4 separate regions of the Homo sapiens genome follow, and all the other regions are linked to region 1. The links are contacts of gene promoters, found by promoter capture Hi-C in blood cells and fetal thymus (Javierre and others, 2016). All regions are on one chromosome and are shown on one strand. The core of a region is centred on a gene start or on the middle of the fragment in contact, and the rest is flanking DNA. Distances in the headings are between cores, read along the strand shown. Region 1 holds the start of ADAMTS9 (ADAM metallopeptidase with thrombospondin type 1 motif 9). Region 2 overlaps LINC02040 (long intergenic non-protein coding RNA 2040). Region 3 overlaps LOC105377125 (a long non-coding RNA gene). Region 4 overlaps ADAMTS9-AS2 (ADAMTS9 antisense RNA 2).

What was found. Contacts are between HindIII fragments. The CHiCAGO score rates a contact against its expected background, and 5 or more counts as called.
Region 2: a fragment that was not itself captured here is called in contact with the fragment with the promoter of ADAMTS9 in region 1 in 1 of 17 cell types (endothelial precursors); the score reaches 7.0 in endothelial precursors.
Region 3: a contact is called between a fragment that was not itself captured here and the fragment with the promoter of ADAMTS9 in region 1, in 1 of 17 cell types (endothelial precursors). The highest score is 6.0, in endothelial precursors.
Region 4: a fragment that was not itself captured here is called in contact with the fragment with the promoter of ADAMTS9 in region 1 in 1 of 17 cell types (endothelial precursors); the score reaches 5.4 in endothelial precursors.

Annotation. Positions count from the first base shown.
Region 1 is chr3:64,686,142-64,690,823 of GRCh38, reverse strand. ADAMTS9 (ADAM metallopeptidase with thrombospondin type 1 motif 9) reads left to right here and starts at 2,824. Exons shown (of 40, transcript NM_182920.2): 1 at 2,824-3,281; 2 at 3,856-4,256. The coding sequence starts at 3,167. All of the region lies in intron 1 of ADAMTS9-AS2 (ADAMTS9 antisense RNA 2), which reads right to left. The HindIII fragment of the contact is 3,589 bases long and covers 219-3,807 here.
Region 2 is chr3:65,178,541-65,183,222 of GRCh38, reverse strand. All of the region lies in intron 1 of LINC02040 (long intergenic non-protein coding RNA 2040), which reads right to left. It overlaps LOC105377127 (a long non-coding RNA gene), which reads left to right and starts at 4,244. Exons shown (of 4, transcript XR_001740736.1): 1 at 4,244-4,492. The HindIII fragment of the contact is 6,152 bases long and covers 1-4,682 here.
Region 3 is chr3:65,105,671-65,110,352 of GRCh38, reverse strand. It overlaps LOC105377125 (a long non-coding RNA gene), which reads left to right. Exons shown (of 3, transcript XR_940925.3): 2 at 1,431-1,553; 3 at 2,328-2,801. It overlaps LOC107986017 (a long non-coding RNA gene), which reads left to right and starts at 4,557. Exons shown (of 3, transcript XR_001740438.2): 1 at 4,557-4,682. The HindIII fragment of the contact is 513 bases long and covers 2,111-2,623 here.
Region 4 is chr3:64,991,474-64,996,155 of GRCh38, reverse strand. All of the region lies in intron 4 of ADAMTS9-AS2 (ADAMTS9 antisense RNA 2), which reads right to left. Among named protein-coding and RNA genes, the nearest start is that of LINC02040, 180 kb to the left of the region's middle. The HindIII fragment of the contact is 650 bases long and covers 1,817-2,466 here.

The DNA.
Region 1 (4,682 bases), core at 1,575-4,074:
CCACCTCAACCTTCCAAAGTGCTAGGATTACAGGTGTGAGCCACCATGCCTAGTCTTAATAAATACTTATTGACTACCTACTATGTGCCAGATCTCTTCTAACTGCTGAGGGAAAAGCTGTGAAATATCAATGAAATCGCTGACATGATTTTCATTAAATACTTTGCATGAGAAGAATAAGAGAGAGCTAAAGAAAAGTTATACATGCAATAAAAGCTTGAGGCAATTCTCTGAATGATTTTAGCCATTTTCCCACAAAGCAACCCTCCAAAAATCTAGCAGTGCTTCTGATTAATCAGTTATTCATGACATATGATAATAGTTATGAACTTGGATTGAACGACTGAAACGGAGTTTGAATCGTGTCTCTCACTTACTGGATTGAGGGGGGTCAAATTATTTCACTTATTCAGATCTCGGTATCCTTATTGGTAAAATGAGATTACTGACACTGACTTCCTGAAAGAGCTGTTTTGAGAATTAAATTAAATGCTATATGTTACCCCATGGTAAGTACTGAATAAGAGTACTTATTTAGACAAAGAGTAATTATTCAGACAAAAGATTTTTGCCTGACTTGCTTAGTTAGCTCAACTGTCTTTTTCATGTCTCACGATTTAAAAGACATTTTCCTAAGATTCTTTAAGACTTTTTTACAGATGTAAATGCAGAAGCCAGCTAATACACTGAAGAAAAGATGGGTAGACTCACTAAGGATGAGAAATTCATAAACCTAGGTTCTTGGTCACCTCAGGAGTTCACCAAGAGATATTTTGTATCTTTCTGGCCTATCAGCTCTTGTGGATCAATTTTTTAAAACTGTAGACAAAGTTCATTCTTCAAGCAAAGTCCTAGAAAGAAAGCAAAGGAGAGAGAGTACACAAAGGAGGCTTCTGTCCCTACATATCGTAATTTCTATACCATTAGTTAACTTCTCTTTGTCAGGAAGGATTTGAACTGAAAGAGAAAAAAAGATTTAATGGGAAATACTGGAAAGTGCTATATTTTTGAGTAATTTTACAATGGAAGTACTGGAATATTTTCCACAGGAATCAGCCAATAGATTGATTTCTTGATATTTTTCTGTTCCTTACTAAATTTTCAGCAACTCCCAGACACTGTGATTGTGGGGAATGTTGTTATAATAAAAAGAAAGATTGTGTATTAGAAGAAACGTATTTTAGTGAATTAATTTGGAGGTTCAAGGTTTAAATGCCATTCTCTAAAAATCTCTAATTGTGCACAATACAGATGTTATTTTTCCATCCTTACATTTTACATATCCATTATGAAATTCCAGTAATAAGACGATGGTAACATTATCAATTTGGGTTAACAATTATTTAGCAAATTCGTCTTGCCAAGTCATTTTTACCCTTCACCAGAAGAAATATATGTATTAGTATCTCAAGAATAGTTGACATTGCTAGCATATTGCGATTTGGTTCCTGGTGTTGGCAATCTTTGGTATTTCTAGTCCTGAGTGCTAACCTACCACGCAACAGAACCTCAACCCCCGTTCTAGGATACTTGGGCAAATATATATTTATTAGTCATATATTTATATATTTTTAACGATATTGTCATGTCTTTCCTCTTGAAATTATCTTGAAATTCTATCTTCCTGAGGGCTGGTTAAAGAAAAGGCGCCACTGAACCACCCAAGATTGAACAATTCACACACACACACACACACACACACACACACACACACACGAAGGTGTAGCTTGAAGCGCCTGCTTTCAGTCTTTCCCAGTCTTTCCAAGCATCTCTCAGGCTGAAAGCAAGCGGAAGTGATTGAGAAATCCCTCCAGGGACTGGTGCCTCCCACAGGGATCTACAACTTTACACTCCATCCCCCCTTCCCCTCCCATCTCTAAACCCCCTGGTAGTGAGGGGCGCCAGAGTCCCCGCCCCTTCTTGCTGCCAAAATTTGTTCTTAACCTTTTTTGGGGCAGGGGACCTACAGAATGCTATGGACCCTCCATGAATGGTGACAGAGGTTGGTGGAAAGCACAGCTTAAATATTTTGCGAAATTTTCAAGAGACCACGTATTAGAAACACACTCCGACCTGCAGGATTAAGAACCCCATTTCTAAAACTCTTGACTTGGGGTGATTAAATCGAGAGCGGAGCTCAGGTGCCAAATCTCTTCCCGAATGAAAAAGTGTAGGAAGGGAAGGCGCTCCGGCGCTGGGCCACTTTCACTTGTAAGAAACCAAAAGATGGGGACTGGTGGCAAGAGATGGGGACGGAAGAGAAAGGAAAGGAAAAGGAGAAATGTGAGAAACAGACAGGGACACGGTGGGGCGGGGAGAAGACAGACATCACAGGGGAAAATGGGGAGAAGGGACAGAGTCCGAGAGGCACAGCAGCAGAGAGACAAGGGGGAGGAGGAAAAAGAGACTCGGAAGGGAGGAGAGAGAGGAGAGGAGAGGAAAAAGACGAGAGGGGAAGTGGCTGCACGCGCGCCAGGAAAGGGAGAGAACTTTCCCTGCTTTCCCTCCCCGGGGCAGGGAATCTCAGAAAACCCCACTTCAGCGAGGTGGCGGGGACCAGGAACAGCTGCCCCGGCGCTGGTGACGCCTCTGGCCTCCGCCTCTTGCAGCCGGCAGGGCCTCCGGCTGCGAGTCCCGCACGGGCCGGCCGAGGAGGGGACATGGTCTGGAAGGAGGCGGTCCCCGTTCGTCTCGCTTTCTCCTCCCCTCTCCTCCTCTTAGAGGCGTGCACCGGGGGCATTTGAGAGGCTGTGGACCCGCGGCCCCCCCGCCTCCGCCCCCCCAGCCCCCCATTCAAGAAGCCGCTCAGCTATCCCGGCCAGCACAGGGCGCCCGGCGCGCCTCGGAGCGCAAGTTCCTCGCCTTCTCCTGCCCGCTCGCTGGGCATTATGCGGCCAAGCAGCCGAGCCCCAGTCCTCCTCCTCCTCCTGCTCCTCCGGCTCCTCCTGCGGCCCGAGCGGCTCAGCTCTCGGCAGGCGGCGGCGTTGCTCAGCCGAGCGCAGACGGGACCCTCGCAGCGAGACCTCAGCGACTCCTAAAGTCAAAAGTTGGCGGCGGGCGCCGGGCTCCGCGCGCTCTCCACGGCCGCTGCCTCGCGTCGCCGCCGCAGCCAAGGAGGGCAGGAGGGAGGGGGGTGGGGGCAGCGGAGGGAGGGGTGGGAAGCACCATGCAGTTTGTATCCTGGGCCACACTGCTAACGCTCCTGGTGCGGGACCTGGCCGAGATGGGGAGCCCAGACGCCGCGGCGGCCGTGCGCAAGGACAGGCTGCACCCGAGGCAAGGTAACCAGGCTCCGGCCCCCGGGACCCCGCCGGCCCCGACGCCGCCTCCCGGTCCTCGCTCCTGGGCAGGGGCACCCCGCAGCGGAGGCTTCTCTCCTTTTCCTAGAAAGAATTATCTCCCGCTTTGCAGCCTCTCCCTTCTTTGGGTCATCCCCAACCAATTGCTAGGGAGGGACACTATGGAAACGAATTTAGGCAACCCCCCCCTACCTTGCTGTTGCCAGATATATCCCCATCCCCACTCCCACGCCGCAAACTAAAGTAACTTAGTAATTGGGGGCACCAGATAGCGTCATGTTTTATTTTATTCAGGTTATTTATCAATATCTGAAATCATATATATTTTGACTTGTTAATTGTCTGGCTCGGAATAGTGTATCCTCAGCACCTAGCACAGGTCCTGTTACTGGCACATAGTAGGTGCTCAGCAAATATTTGTCCACTGATTAAGGGTGAAGGGATTGACTCGAATGGGCTGGAAAATAAGGTCAGAACAAAGTCCCCACCTTCGTTTTAAATTAAAGCTTAAGGAAAAATGAATTATTGGTTCATATACCTCTGCTTCTCTCCGCAGTGAAATTATTAGAGACCCTGAGCGAATACGAAATCGTGTCTCCCATCCGAGTGAACGCTCTCGGAGAACCCTTTCCCACGAACGTCCACTTCAAAAGAACGCGACGGAGCATTAACTCTGCCACTGACCCCTGGCCTGCCTTCGCCTCCTCCTCTTCCTCCTCTACCTCCTCCCAGGCGCATTACCGCCTCTCTGCCTTCGGCCAGCAGTTTCTATTTAATCTCACCGCCAATGCCGGATTTATCGCTCCACTGTTCACTGTCACCCTCCTCGGGACGCCCGGGGTGAATCAGACCAAGTTTTATTCCGAAGAGGAAGCGGAACTCAAGCACTGTTTCTACAAAGGCTATGTCAATACCAACTCCGAGCACACGGCCGTCATCAGCCTCTGCTCAGGAATGGTAAGTGGGCGCGCGCCACCTCCTCTCCCCTTCCGCCTCCTCGCCCGCTTCTAGAAGACTTAATTGTCCTCTAAGCCTAGAGACCCTCACTGTGGCGAGGCTCCGCTCCTCTCCGGCGTTAAATATCAGCTAGAAACTCGTATGGTTTGGGTAGCTAGCTCTGTGCGTGCGAGTACACTGGCGTGGAGCGCACACACCCGCCCCCAGGGGCTTCTGGATGTTTCAGAGCTTTCTGGAGTTTGGACTCGGTTCAGCGGCGCGTTGCCCAACGCTGCGAGGCGGCCTGGAAGTCAGTTTCCAAACTCGGAGAAAGTTACTGGAGTTGCGGTTCCCTGCAGCAAACTTGGCCACCCGGGAGCGGAGCCGCTGAGCGCAGGGCGGACCAGACTCCTTATTGGTGCGCCTTGCATCGGGGATGTGGGGCTG
Region 2 (4,682 bases), core at 1,089-3,588, 490 kb before region 1:
GGCGGATCACGAACTCAGGAGATAGAGATCATCCTGGGCAACATGGTGAAACCCCATCTCTACTGAAAATACAAAAATTAGCTGGGCATGGTGGTGCTTTCCTGTAATCCCAGCTACTCAGGAGGCTGAGGCAGGAGAATTGCTTGAACCAGGGAGTTGGAGGTTGCAGTGAGCCAAGGTTGCACCACTGCACTCCAGCCTGGTGACAGAGTGAGGCTCCATCTCAAAAAAAAAAAAAAAATTGTTAATAATGTACCTAAGTTGCTCACCTATCAAATATTGGCACTGGGTTTAGCACTGCAGGCAGTCTGACATCACAGTCCACCCCGTCAATGGTGGCATTATACTTCTATTAATAGCAAATGCTTAAGCAGAAAGTAAAGTCTCTCTGTGACCAGACAGTGTGAAACTGTTTTGCTCAAAGTCATTGTTAAGAGATGATCACCAATTCCTCAGTGAGGAATGGCTAGAGACTACGCGTCATTTATTACAAATTTTATACAATGTAGATTTCCTTATAGAATTAAGATTCCATTGTTTTCCACGAGCCTCTCAGGTTTTATGATTAAATAACATATCAGGGTATTCTCATATGTAGGTCCTTGGACAAGTGAACCATACCAGACTTTATGAGTCAAGATTCTGATGTCTCCACAGTGGGAAAAATCAGACAAGCTGACTTTACACAATTCTCACTTACCTGGGCTTCATTCTGTCTGGGTTTGCAGTGTACTCTACCACCTTCACTTAACGGTGGCCTTATTGTGCCTGTTGGCTTGGGTTAGATCTTGTTATGTACACTTTTTATAGAGCTAGACACTATCTTTGAAACAAGAGCATGCAATACGAGGCATGAAAAGAAGACTTTGTAGCTGGGGTGAGACTGGAATGAAATTTAGAAAGAGGCTGTAGTGAGAATTGTCCATAACTGTGACAACAGCATGGATCACGTGATATATATTATTGAGTGCCTGGTACTTGCCAGGCATTGCACCAAGTGCACATAATATATGTTATCTGCATTTACTCCTCACAATAGTCTGTGAGATGGGTATTATTCTCCCCACCTTATGCATGAGGAAGCTGATGTATACAGAGGTAAATTGTCCACGGTCATGCAGCCAGTACTAGTGTTTCTGATCACAAAGCTATTTTTGCTTCCACAATGGCAAATGGCATCTTTCACAGCCACTAGCATGTCTCTGTTCCTTCCTCAAAAATAAATCCTTAAATTATTGTTTCAATTATCATTTTACTTATACTACGTGATAAAGAAATTAAATTTTTTTCTTTTTGTGAGCTTTCAGACTCCTTTGGAGAGAAAGAATCTTTTCCCTCTTATTATAAAAACTCTTCGTTGAAATGTCTGTGTTCCTTCAGCTGCCCCTGGGGATTCATGTTCCTGAGTTGGACTGGCAGAGAATGTGATGTTTCTCCACGAGGGACTCTGGGAGTAGTCTGATCATTGTGAAATGATTTCAGTAGTCACTGAAACAGAGTGGCTGGAAGACTTTGGAATCTGACAAATTCACACCCTTTTTTATTTACCTGCCACTGTGGCTTACTCTGGGTATTCCCAGGCAACATGGCTGATGTCCCGGTTACTCTGGTAACTGTAAGGAACTGAGAGGCTTTCTTGCTTTGTGTCTTTCTAGCCTGTCCTTCAGGCAGCATCGGCGGCTACCACTACAGGAAGAGCTAGTCTTTGTCAGAGAACTGGGCTCTTTTTTGGCCTTGTAAGAAATCACAGCCATGTTACTGGGACAGCCCCTCTGTCTTTGCCTGCGTCTTGCCAGAAATTCCTAACTGATTGTCAGCAGTTATGCTGTGTTCCTTCCAACTGGACATTCCCATTTAAATGTATTGTCACTGCAGCCAGGGTCATTTGCAGCTTGTTTTTAGCATGGTACCTTTCCCCCATGGGTCTTCTATACCCCTTGTCCACTCTCATGTTGGTCCTGAGAAAGTTACCCTTTTTCACTCTGATGTTTAACACACACTCTCAGGGATTACGGTGTTTACAATGTCACTTTCAGCACTGCATTTTTCTTTTAGTTTATTCCTCAATGAATGATAATGCATTTTTAAAAAAATCACTCTTTTTCTTACACAAATAATAATAATGTTAATTTTAGAAAATCAAATAGAAAAAAATTAAAATTGCCTACAATTAAAGTGGCCAGAGATTACTAGCGTCAACATGCTGGTGTCTTCTCTTCCTATTGGCATGCGTTCTGTATTTTATGGGTAGAGGTACACATACAGCTATGTAGTTATGAACACTTATTTTCAAAATTTGGGAAGAAACACAGCACATTTAAAAATTTTGGCCTGGCATGGTGGCTCATACCTGCAATCCCAGCACTTTGCGAGGGCTAGGTGGGAGGATCGCTTGAGGCCAGGAGCTTGAGACCAGCTTGGGCAACATAGGAAGACTCTGTGTCTACAAAATATTTAAAAGTTAGCTGGATGTGGTGATGTGAACCTGTGGTCCCAGCTAGTCAGGAGGCTGAAGAGGGAGGATTGCTTAAGCCTGGGAGGTTCAGGCTACAGTGAGACATGATTGTACCACTGTACTCCAGTCTGGGTGACAGAGCAAGACCCTGTCTCTCAAAAAAACAAAAAACAAAACAAAACAAAACAAAACAAAAACAAACAAACAAAAAAAACCCCGAATCCCCCAAACTGGCTGTGGTTTTAGCTGATCTTCCAAGGAAGATGAATACATTTCTGTTTGAGGTAATTGTTGTTTTGTTTGGGCCAACACTTATGTTTCCCTTGATAAAAAGCTATAATGTGTATATATTATAGTATACAAATATTAGTGTAGAATTTGAGAAATTCTTACATATGTATATACACCTATATAACCACAACCAAGATCAAGATATAGAATATATTCAGACCCTATCCCTAGAAGGTTCCCTCATGACCCTTCCCAGTCAGTAACCCCTTTTCCCTAAGAGGAAACCACTGTTATAACTTCTATCACCATAGATTAGTTTTGTTAGCTCTTGAACTTCAGGTACATGGAATCACACATTCTTTTGTGTCTGATGCTTTTGCTTAATATTGTGTCTGTGAAAGTCACCCTTGTTGTTGAGCTTAATGGTAGCCCTTTTTTTTTTATTACTGCATAGTATTCCTTGTCTCAGTATACTACAGTTTATTTTGTTGATGGAGATTTGAATTGTTTCCTGTTTTAGGCTCTTACCTACAAGAATGACGTTCTAAGGCTGAGGCCTTTGCTGTGATTGCATCGTCTCCCAACTTCTTCCTCTGGCCTTCCCTTTCCCCACCACTGTCAATCTTGAAGAACTCCCTAATAATCTTTTCTCATGCTAATAATCTCCATCTCACAGTCTACTTCTTGACCTGACCTGCAACAACAGCCCTGATGGATTTATTTTATCAAATTGGCTATGGTGTTTTACTTTGCTCTAAGACTTAGAAATTCTGAACCTTATGAGTCAAGTTTTCGTAAGGCCCTGAACACAAAAGAGATAAAAACTGGCATGCTAGGTGCACTGTCAGAGTGAATGTCATAATCAAAGGTGATTTTCTAAACATGAATGAACATTTTGTAGGTTTCTAGGCAAAAATTTCATGTAAAATGAGAAAAGTGGTGTATTAGGAGGTATAATCTGGCTTTGTATGTACGAAATGAATTGGAGAAGAAACCTGTTAGACAAGTACAATTGTTCCAACATAAGGAAACAATAAGGAAGAAGGGATGCGAGAGCCTTGGTGGAGAGAGGAGGAACAGGTTGAGGGCACTGTGGCTGTGTGTGGAATTGTCAGTGTGGAAAGTGGAGAAGTTAATGATAACACCAATGCTCTGAATCCAGATGGCCAATGTAGCATTTCTCATTCCATTCATTTGAGCTTTGGGGAAGAAGAAAAGAGTGTAAAGGAGCAAACTTTTGAAAAATATAGATGTCAGGAGGAAATACTGGTGTGTGGTTAAGGAGATGCAGAGTTCAGTTTTAGAGCTGGTGGAATGATAAGAAAAGGATGCATCAAAGAATAGGAGAGGTGAGCCTTTTGTGTAAGGAAGGAATTAAAACAAAAGAGATAAAGATTGGGGCAGCAGGGTTATATCTTGTATTAGTTATCTATTGCTGTACAACCAATTACCCTAAAATGTAGCAACTTAAAATGACTACATATTTACGATTTCACAGATTCTGTGGATCAGGAAACCAGGTGCCACGTATAGCTGGGTCCTCTAGCTTTGGGTCTCTCACAGGGCTATAGTCATCTCAAGGCTTGCCTGGGGAGGATTCGCTTCTAAGAACACTCATGTGTTTGTTGGCAGGCTTCCAATCCTTGTGGGTTGTTGGAGTGAGTTTCAGCTCCTCATAAGCTGTAAACCACCCTTGGTTTCTTGCCACGTGGGCATCTCCATCGGGCAACTCACAACATGGCAGCAAGCAAGCAAGAGGGTAAGAGAGACTGCCAGCAACAGAGACAGAAAGCCAGCGAGATGCAGGTAAGACTGCAACCACATCATGGAAATGACATCTCATCACCTGTGCTATGTTCCGTTTGTTAAAACTGAGTCAGTAGGTTCTGTGCACAAAGGAAGGGGATTCCACAGGTGCCTGCGTACCAGGAGGCAGAGGTCGCTAGGAGCCCTGTCAGAGCTGCCGACCACATCTACATAAAGTAATATTCGAGGA
Region 3 (4,682 bases), core at 1,118-3,617, 420 kb before region 1:
TAAAGCAACCCAGTTTATTCCAGGCATCCATCTGGCATGTGATTTACACTGAATCCAGAGGCACTCAAGTATTTTTGTCTGACCCTTGCAGTCTTCAGAGATTCATTCTTCACTCCCAAGTATACTCACACCCCACACTTGGCCATAGCTCACTTCTGACAGGCCAGTTTGGATCTTAATCACAGCTCCCAAAGTTTTAGTTAACATAGCTTCATCCATGAACTTAATCAGCAGGCTCTCCACTCTAACATTTCAACCATTGATCAAACAACAGCCACTAAATCATAGAGAGCCCTGGTTGATCCCTGAAAACTATGCCCATGCTTGATGCTGGGCCATTGATGGAAACTATTTTGTACTGCCTTTTAACCACTTATTTACCAGTTTTATTTCAACCAGATTGTCTCAGAATAACTCATGTAAGACCTGATTTTATTTTAAAAATGCAAAAATTTGGAAGCATATAATATAATAGAATTTTTCTTCATTCTTTCCCTAATTTCACTTCTCTCCTCAAAGGTACTCACTAGATAGATTTTTTTTTCTTTCTGGAGCTTTTAAATTTGCATTTTGCATCTCTCTCTCTCTCTGTCTCTGTCTCTCTGTGTGTGTGTGTGTGTGTGTGTGCGCGCGCGCATATGTGTGTGTGTACTGTTAGAAATATTTACTGTATATCCATGTGCTCTTCCCAATTCCAGTTTCCTTGCAGCTCATATTGGCCTTGAGACTAGCTTAGGCCCATATACTATAAACAGAAGTGAGGCCAGGCACAGTGGCTCATGCCAGTAATCCCATCACTTTGGGAAGCTGAGGCAGGAGGATTGCTTGAGGCCAGGAGGTCAAAATCAGCCTGGGTAACATAGCAAGACCCTGTCTCTACCAAAAAATTTTTTAAATTAGTTGAGTGTGGTGGCATGCATCTGTAGTCCTAGCTACCTGGGAGGCTGAGGTGGGAGAATTTCTTGAGCCCAGGAGTTCAAGGTTACAGCGAGCAATGATTACACCACTGCACTCCAGCCTAGGCAACAGAGCGAGACCCTGTCTCAAAGAAGAAGTAATATTTGTCATTGCTGGGCTGATGCATAATGGTAAGAATGAGTTTTCCATGAGCCTTCTTACTTTCTTGTGAAGACTGAGGAGGCTCCATCTTCTAAATGTTACATATGCAATGTGATGGAAGCCTGGGTCCCTGAATGACTATATGGATTAGCATTCTTCTCTCATTGTGCATATGAGTGTTATATATGTACCATGAACAAACTATATCTTCCTTGTGTTTAATCACTGAGATTTCAGAATAAGCTAGTTACCACAGCAAAACCAATTATAACCTAATACATGAATCTGTACTTAGGATATTTTTAAAAAATTCAAAGGATTATAGTATATATATTGATCTGCAGCTTATTTTTTTCTCTTAACATTTCTAGACATCAGTCCTTGTCAGTACATATCAACTATCCTGATGTTATAAAGTCATACTCTCAGAACCATATTTTGACATGTTAATAACCATCCACTTAACAAAGAGTCTGACTAAATTTATTTATAAGGTAAATATTGAATATATACATGTCTGTAAGTATGCATCTGTAAACATTTGCCATTTAGTCATTTGTAAATGCATTTACAATAATTATGTATAATTTTGTATGTAAAGTAGTATAACATGACAGGTTCTGAGAGACTTGAAGAGCATTCTCATGAAGAAAAAAAGTTGAAAGACATTTTCTGGAGATTAAAAAAAATTAAGAAGCAGCAAAGAATGTGCCAAAAGGAAAAAGAAAAATAGCCACTTGTCTTTTAGGAAATGTCATAGAAAAGCATCAATTTGTTTATAGAGGATAAAATTTAGTATACCTAAATCTTAAAGTCAGGGGGCATAATAAAAGATGAAAACATAAATATGACAACTACAAAAATGACTGAAAGTATAGCTCATTTTAGTTTTCAAGAGATGATCAAACAATATTTTTACATTTTTAATGAAAATGTTAAGAGGTCAGAGTTCAATTAACCTAGCGATTTTATTCTTGAAGCAGACTCACAGGATAGGAAAACTACATTGAGCTTTTATTTCTATTTCTGTTCTATGAGGTTAGGGAAAGCTTCATCTTTTTTGGAACATTGCATATATATATTTTTTCTTTTTGTTGTTGTTATTTTTTAGCATCTTTGCTTTTCAGTTCCCCTTCATTAAGCTGTGAATGGTTGGAGCTCAATGTAAGATAAGACTAGCTCACAGAATCAATTCTGTGTGGATATTGTTGTGTTTTGGTTGTTCAACCTCATTGTCCTTTCCTAACAGTACCCTGATTTCCTTTCAGGGAACCCCATTTTATGCTGTCTTGGCAAGACAAAGAAAATCCAAGTTGTGCATGGCAGTAAAGGGGAGCCTGGAAGCATCTCTGGCAGTTCCTTTCTTTCCCAATTCTGAAGTGGGAAAAAGTGAGAAAGAAGAGAAAGTGGAAGTAATGATGAAACAAATGTGCAAAGACTGACCCTTACTGATGTGCATCAATGAAAGGAGGACAAAGCAGGCTTCTACCTCCTCTTCTTTTTGTATTTTCTTTCCTCTCTTCTCAGTTTTTCCTATTTCTATTTTTCTTTCTCTTCATAAGCTTTCTTCTCAGTTTTTACACTCCCACATTACATTTCATCTTGGTCTTTGTTTTTCTTCCAATCCTGTAATTTATTTGGTACCCAGGGGATATATCTCAGGAAATCTGTTACCCTATGTCTCTTTGCTGTCTAGTTATTTGACAATGTTTCCTTCTCTAATAAAGTTTTCTCCTTCTTTATGTTCCCTCTCATATGTTATCCCTTCATTATATTAAGATACTCAAAGAAAGGAAAATGCCTTGGCTGTCTTTTCCACCAACCAAGCTGGATGTAATTCCACTGTTTGCTGAGAAAAGAATTGCGTGTGACTCACAGGGTTTATCTTTGTCCGGACGCTCTGTTCATCACGGGTTATGTTGTTTGGCTGTGAAAGATGTATATTATGCCCAAATTATGTCATCTGCCCAAAGATTTGCAACAAAAGCTGGTCCTGGTACCTCCAACTTCTGCACATACTGATTGCTTTGTTTAGTTCTCTGCATCTAATTTTTATATTTTTAAATCCTCTCCACTGAATTTTAGCTGGAGCAGCACAACCCACCATAATTTAAACGGTTTTATCAATTGTGCACAAAAGGCCAAATAGCTCCAAGCACCTTGCAGCTCCCTCAACTGCGACCTCTATTCCTGTCTCTTATTCTTTCCCTACCACTACCCTTCTCCCCAGTACACTCTTCCTTATATTTTATAGTAACAGTACTGTTAGAAAAATAACACATAAAGGCAAATTCTACTGGAAATTGTAAACCACTGGCTGGCCATCAGACCAGTATCACTGGTATTATACAGACATCTATTATTTCCCAGCAGAGGAAACGGATGTTGTCAGAAGTTCTTATTCTGCACCCGCTATAAAGACAATGAGATTATACAAATGCATAGACTCAAGAAATATGATCAATGCCCTTGTGGTTTCTGTGATCGGTTTCTGTGATGAATGGCAAGCTGCTAAGAAGGATCATTTAAAGTGGAGGGAGGAAACCTCAGGGTTATATAAGATGGTGCTTTTTAAAGTCAGCTTTGAGTATTTCCTTGTGCGTTTCATGAATCTGATTATTAGCACTGCTCATGATGATATAGTGTGGCTATCTCAGAGAAATATTGGGGCACATTATTATTTGATTGAAATAAATGGGAAGAAAGAAAACTATACTCAAAATATCATTCTTTTTATACCAGAAAGAAGTTCAAGATGACCCGGTCCAACTCCCTTATTCTTCAATATAGAAGCTGAGTCTCAGAGAAATTAAAAGTCTTGCTCATGTCACATAAGCATTTCTAGACAAAATCTGCTCCAGGATCAAGATCTCTGGTCTCTAAGATTGGTGCCCTTGTCACCTCTTTGAAATTCATAAATATGTAATTTTTCTCTCATGCTAATTCTCGTGATAATTTTTGTATTTCTCTGCATCGCTAGGTCATTTTTGATAGTTGTAACAAATTCAACAAATATATATTCATTAACAATTTTCCTTTTTTTTTTTTCTGAGACAGAGTCTTGCTCTGTCACCGAGGCTGGAGTGCAGTGGCACAATCTTGGCTCACTGCAACCTCTGCCTCCCAGGTTCAAGCAATTGTCCTGCCTCAGCTTCACCAGTAGCTTGGATTACAGGTGCCTGCCACCATACCCAGTTAATTTTTGTATTTTTAGTAGAGATGAGGTTTCACCATGTTGGGCAGGCTGGTCTCAAACTCCTGACCTCAAGTGATCCGCCTGCCTCAGCCTCCCAAAGTGCTAGGATTACAGGCGTGAGGCCAACACCTTTACTTTTTAAAGCTTATATGCAAAGAATTATGCCTGTGTCTTGAATAGCAGTGGGGGTAGCACAGTTATGTTAGTTTTCTGTTGCTGCTATTACAAATAGTGAGAAACCAGGTGACTTAAAATCGTTCTTTTTTTTCTTTTTTTTTTTTTTATTATCTTACAGTTCTGCAGGTTAGAAATCTCACAATAGTGGTAAAAAGTTTTGGGATTTAGAGCTCACCTGGCTCAGTTTGAATGACAGCTGTGTGATTTTAGACAACTCACTTAACTATTCTGATTCAGTTTCCTTTCCGTA
Region 4 (4,682 bases), core at 892-3,391, 310 kb before region 1:
AGAGAACAATCCAAGATCGTGGACAAGAGTACAGTAAACTGCCTTAGCAGTGGTCTGTCTCTCCACACCCCGGTCTTACAAGTGCATAGCTGTGTGCAGTGTGCTGATTCTCAAATGCATGGGAAGCCCCTGGGGAACTTGTTGAACTGCAAATTCTCCGTCCACATCCTCAGAGATTCAGACTCAAAACAGCTGCAGGGGGTGGGGGGTGGGGTGTTGCACGGAGCGGGGCTGGAACTCTGTCTTTTTAACAAACACTCCCCTCATCGTTTTGATGAAGTGGTTTGTAGATGTGAACATTGAAGAAAACCCCAGTAAACTGGTAAAAATTGGACACTTCAATGTCTCAGATCTGGCTTTGATTCCTAGCTAGGCCACTGCCTAGTTGAGTAAAACTTCTGAACTCCAGTTTCTTTCAAAAGTTGATGAAATGAAAACATTTGTGAGAATTCAATGGGCTTGACACAATGTGAACATTTAATAAATGGTAGCTTTTATTTTTAAATCATTGTTTTCTAAAGAAACACAAAAGAAAGGACCATAGCTACAAACTTATTAATAGTCTTCTATGAGGAGAAATTGGTCTTTAGTTTGTAAATATAAAGGGAAAACTTGAACAAAAGCATGAAGGATAGAAAGCAAATGTCTAGCTCTGTTATTCTGATGATATACAGCACATATCTGGAGAGGGTGGTACCCTCTCCAGCCTCATCTCCAGTCGGTATCCTTCTGGAGGTGTCTTGATTTCCTTTCCTCAGGGAAGTGGCCTTCCTGACCCCTACGTTAAATACACAGCGCCAGTTCCTTCTTCCTGATGCCTTCATTATGTGTTATTGTTAATTACTAGTTGATGTCTGTCTTCCTGCTAGTCTGAGCTCCACCAAAGGATGGGGTCTTGTTGCCTATACATAGCCTTATTTCCAAGGTACATAGTATGAGACTGATACGTATATTTTGTGAGAACAAATAATCGTAAGAATTTTTTTTTTTAATTCAATTATGGAATGGAAAGTCTTGGGGGATACTGCCTTACTTGTCACAGCTGATCCATTCAAAAGGACCACTTGGATATCTTGCCAAGGAAATCAGTGAACGCAGTGACTCTTAAGTTTTTTTTCCCAACTGGCCAAATCGTTTTCTGGAGCACCTAAAGGAAATCTTGGGCAGTTTCTTGAAGAAGGACAAAGTCCTAATCAAGAGCTCTGTTTTGCAATTTGCATGGAGCTAGACAAATTGCACAAGGAAACACCAGATGACAACATCAATTTTAATTAGGTCTCAGTGAAACACCTGAAGGTACTATTTAAATGATGTACTGCTTCAGCCCACAGGACCTCCAAACGGTGAAAGGGAGAATTAATGGGGTAGGGACAGAATGATTTTATTTATCAATCTAGTCACAGCTCTGCTGTATTCAAATGTTTTTTTCCTTATTCGTATGGAGAAATTTTAACTGGGCATTAATATCCCCATAGAGGAAAGGTGATTCGCCAGCTGAAAGAATTAAGCATTCTACCAGACCTAGTCTCAAAAGTTGGAGAAACTGCAAAAATCACACATTATTTCAAGTCCGGAAAAGCTGAGCTAATATTTTTTTTCTCCATTGTCTTTCCTTTTCTGGTTCTGGCCCCAAACAGAAAGCCCCTTTTATACCCTTTTAAATGTGTTTCTAGGGGGAAAAAGATACTTTCCAAGTGGAAGTAGAAAACAGAAAATAAATGCAAAATTCTATTTCTTTGGCATGTAGACTTCATATGAATTCTGCTCAGATGGCTGGAGTTTCCATTACTGCAAAATAAAGGGCTACCTGGAAGCTTAGAAAAAGTGAGATTAAGAGGCTACATGATTCTTAGCCCTATGTTCTTAATCAATTTAGTTGTTATTACAACTTAACTAGACTTCATCAACAGAACAATCCCTGTTACTGAATATTTATATTCCATTTTCAAAGAAAATCAGCAAAGTAACAAGAAATCACAGTTAGATGTAAAGCGAGTATACATGTCTAAAATATATCTTCATTTATTTGGCAAAGTCATGAAGCTGCCATTTTAAAGAGAATTCTGCATGTTCCTCTATTCATTTACTTGAGACTATTTGTTTTCTTTCTTCTGAGAAAAGAAAAATACACTGAAAACGAAGACAAACTATTTTCTGGCGAAGTGCTAACTGCTCCAGCTGCAGACTGCCTCTGAGTTCCGGGAAGTCATTTTGCAAAGGCTTTGGACTCAGGTGGATGAAAGCCCCTGAATAGCCCATTAGTAGTTTCAGCTTTATCAGGCCGATCGCTTGCCATAAGTAAAAGAAAAAAGCCAGTGTGGGGACAACCATATCATCAGGTGGGAGAGGATCAGAACCCATTCTACACCACACATTCAGTGAAGCGTGGGTGCAGCAGTGAGAGAGAGATTACTGTAGCAATTTGCAAAGCGTATTCCTCAGGTGATATTCTATGGTCGAAAAGCTTTGGCGCAATAATTCTATGCTATTTCTGCTTGTGGAAAGTCGCAATATATTTTTATCAGTTACAGGCCCTAGGAATTCCTGAAATGACATATACCTTTTAAAAAACTTGGTTTTCCCCAAATTCATCTGACTCCTCTTTATTTTATAGCACACGTATTAACAGTAACGGGCCTTCCACAGAAAAATAGTACCTTGAGCTATAAGCCCCTCTCCAACTCCCACCCCCTGGCCCTTGTTTTTTTTTTTTGTTGTTTTTTTTTTTTTTTTTTTGGACTTTATTTAATGAGAGGATGACCTATGGTAGTTCTAATGCTTCCTAGTTCTTTATATGTCTTTTTACATGGAAAAGGATAATAAAAATCATAGTAGTTGCATGCTAATGGCTATTAACTTCTTTTTCCCACTTAATGTTTTCTTACTTTCTTTACCTGCTATAAAAATATTCTGTCAATTCCTCTATTTTACTAATTTATGAAGTGCCTGCTGTCAGAAGTGCTGGCCCAGAGTGCTGTCAGAAGTGCTGGCCCATTACCTCTAGGGCTGAGGGGATCAATAGCATAGGGAAAACCAGCATACCATGGCTCAGCAGTTGGGAAATTCCACCCTGAGGAGCTAACAGGTATGCAGCGGTTGAACCCACCTGGCTATTGGGAATGTGTGTGTGCTGACTCTGGAGTCCTCTCCACTCACCATCGTTTGTTGTCTTCACGTACCTACTTTTTCCGAGTGTGAGATCAGATGTGAGCACTATGATTGGTGCCTTTTGTTTCACTGCCCACCCCACCCAAAACACTTTACAGGGTTCTGGTACTGTATCATTCAAATGACTACCCTCATTTCCTGTTTTAGGTACATTTCATTTTTCCTGTCTTGGTTTCTATAAGAGGCAGCAGAACAGATGCAGGAGAACTGGGGGATGATCTACCAGCAATCCCTGCAACATGTGGAGGATTTTCACTTCCTTTCAGTTTGGAGCAGGCTGTTCTCAGAGGATCCCTTCACCTTCCCCCACCCCACTGCCCTACTTACTTCCAAAGCAGACAGCCAGAATTTGATTTCACTATCGGAGCTACGCCTGCTGGGAAAGGGGAACCAAGTGGGTGGCCACTGTTAGGGAAAAGTTATATTCAAATGGGCTCATCGGAGCTGGTAGGATTCCAGGTGTTTTCCAGATAGACATATTAACGAATACCACATTTCTTATTTCCATTTTGAGATCTCTAGGCTCTTTTTTCCTTATTGTTTCCCAGTAGAATATATTGTCTCCTTTTATTTCCTTCAAAAGTAATCCATATTCATTGCTCAGAATTAAAACTATACAAACGAGCAAAACAAAACAAAAATTGCTCATAAAGTCACCACCCAAATAGAATCATAGTTAACATTATAATGTGTTTCTCCCAATCTTTTTTCATGCATTAGCATTCAAAGTTTGTTTTAAAACATTGAAATATTTGTGCATAATGTATGATAAACATCATCTCCCACCTAAATATATATCTCAATTATCTTTAGAAGCCATGAAATATTCTTCTATAATTTCTAGAGGCTGTATAACCTCTCTTCTGTGTGCCACGTGATGTATTTGATCCCTTCTTTTACATAATCCAAAGTAGTGATTCAAAGTATGGGGTTTCCCCCTATAATAAACATAGTTATAGTTAATACTTTATAACAAAATATTTGTGTACACATCTTTGATTTTGTACTATTTTTGCTTCATTTATTATGAAATATAACACACACACAGGAAAGTACATATACATACATTTGTATAGTTAGTTGAAATAATTATAAAAATAAATACCAATATAATTACCAATCCCAGCTCGTAAAAGATCATGGCCAGCAGTCCATGAGCCTGTCTCCTTCAAAACTCCCTCCTGTTCTTCTGGAGGGACTACCATTGTGATTTCCTTTTTCATTTTACCTCTTATAAATGAATCCCCCAAAATGTTCATTTTTGAACTTCTATGGATATGGATTCATATTTTTGTGTCTGGCTTCTTTGGTTCCGTATATGTTGGTTAAACTTATCTATGTAACTTGTTCATTTTCATTATTGCATAGCATACCATTGTATGAATATGCCATAATTTTTCCATTCTATGTGGGATGGGTTCCCAGATTTGCACAATTACAGGCTACAATAATCCTAGGGCATGTGTGTACCCATTTTTCTAAAGTACACACCCAAGATTGAAACAATTGAGGAT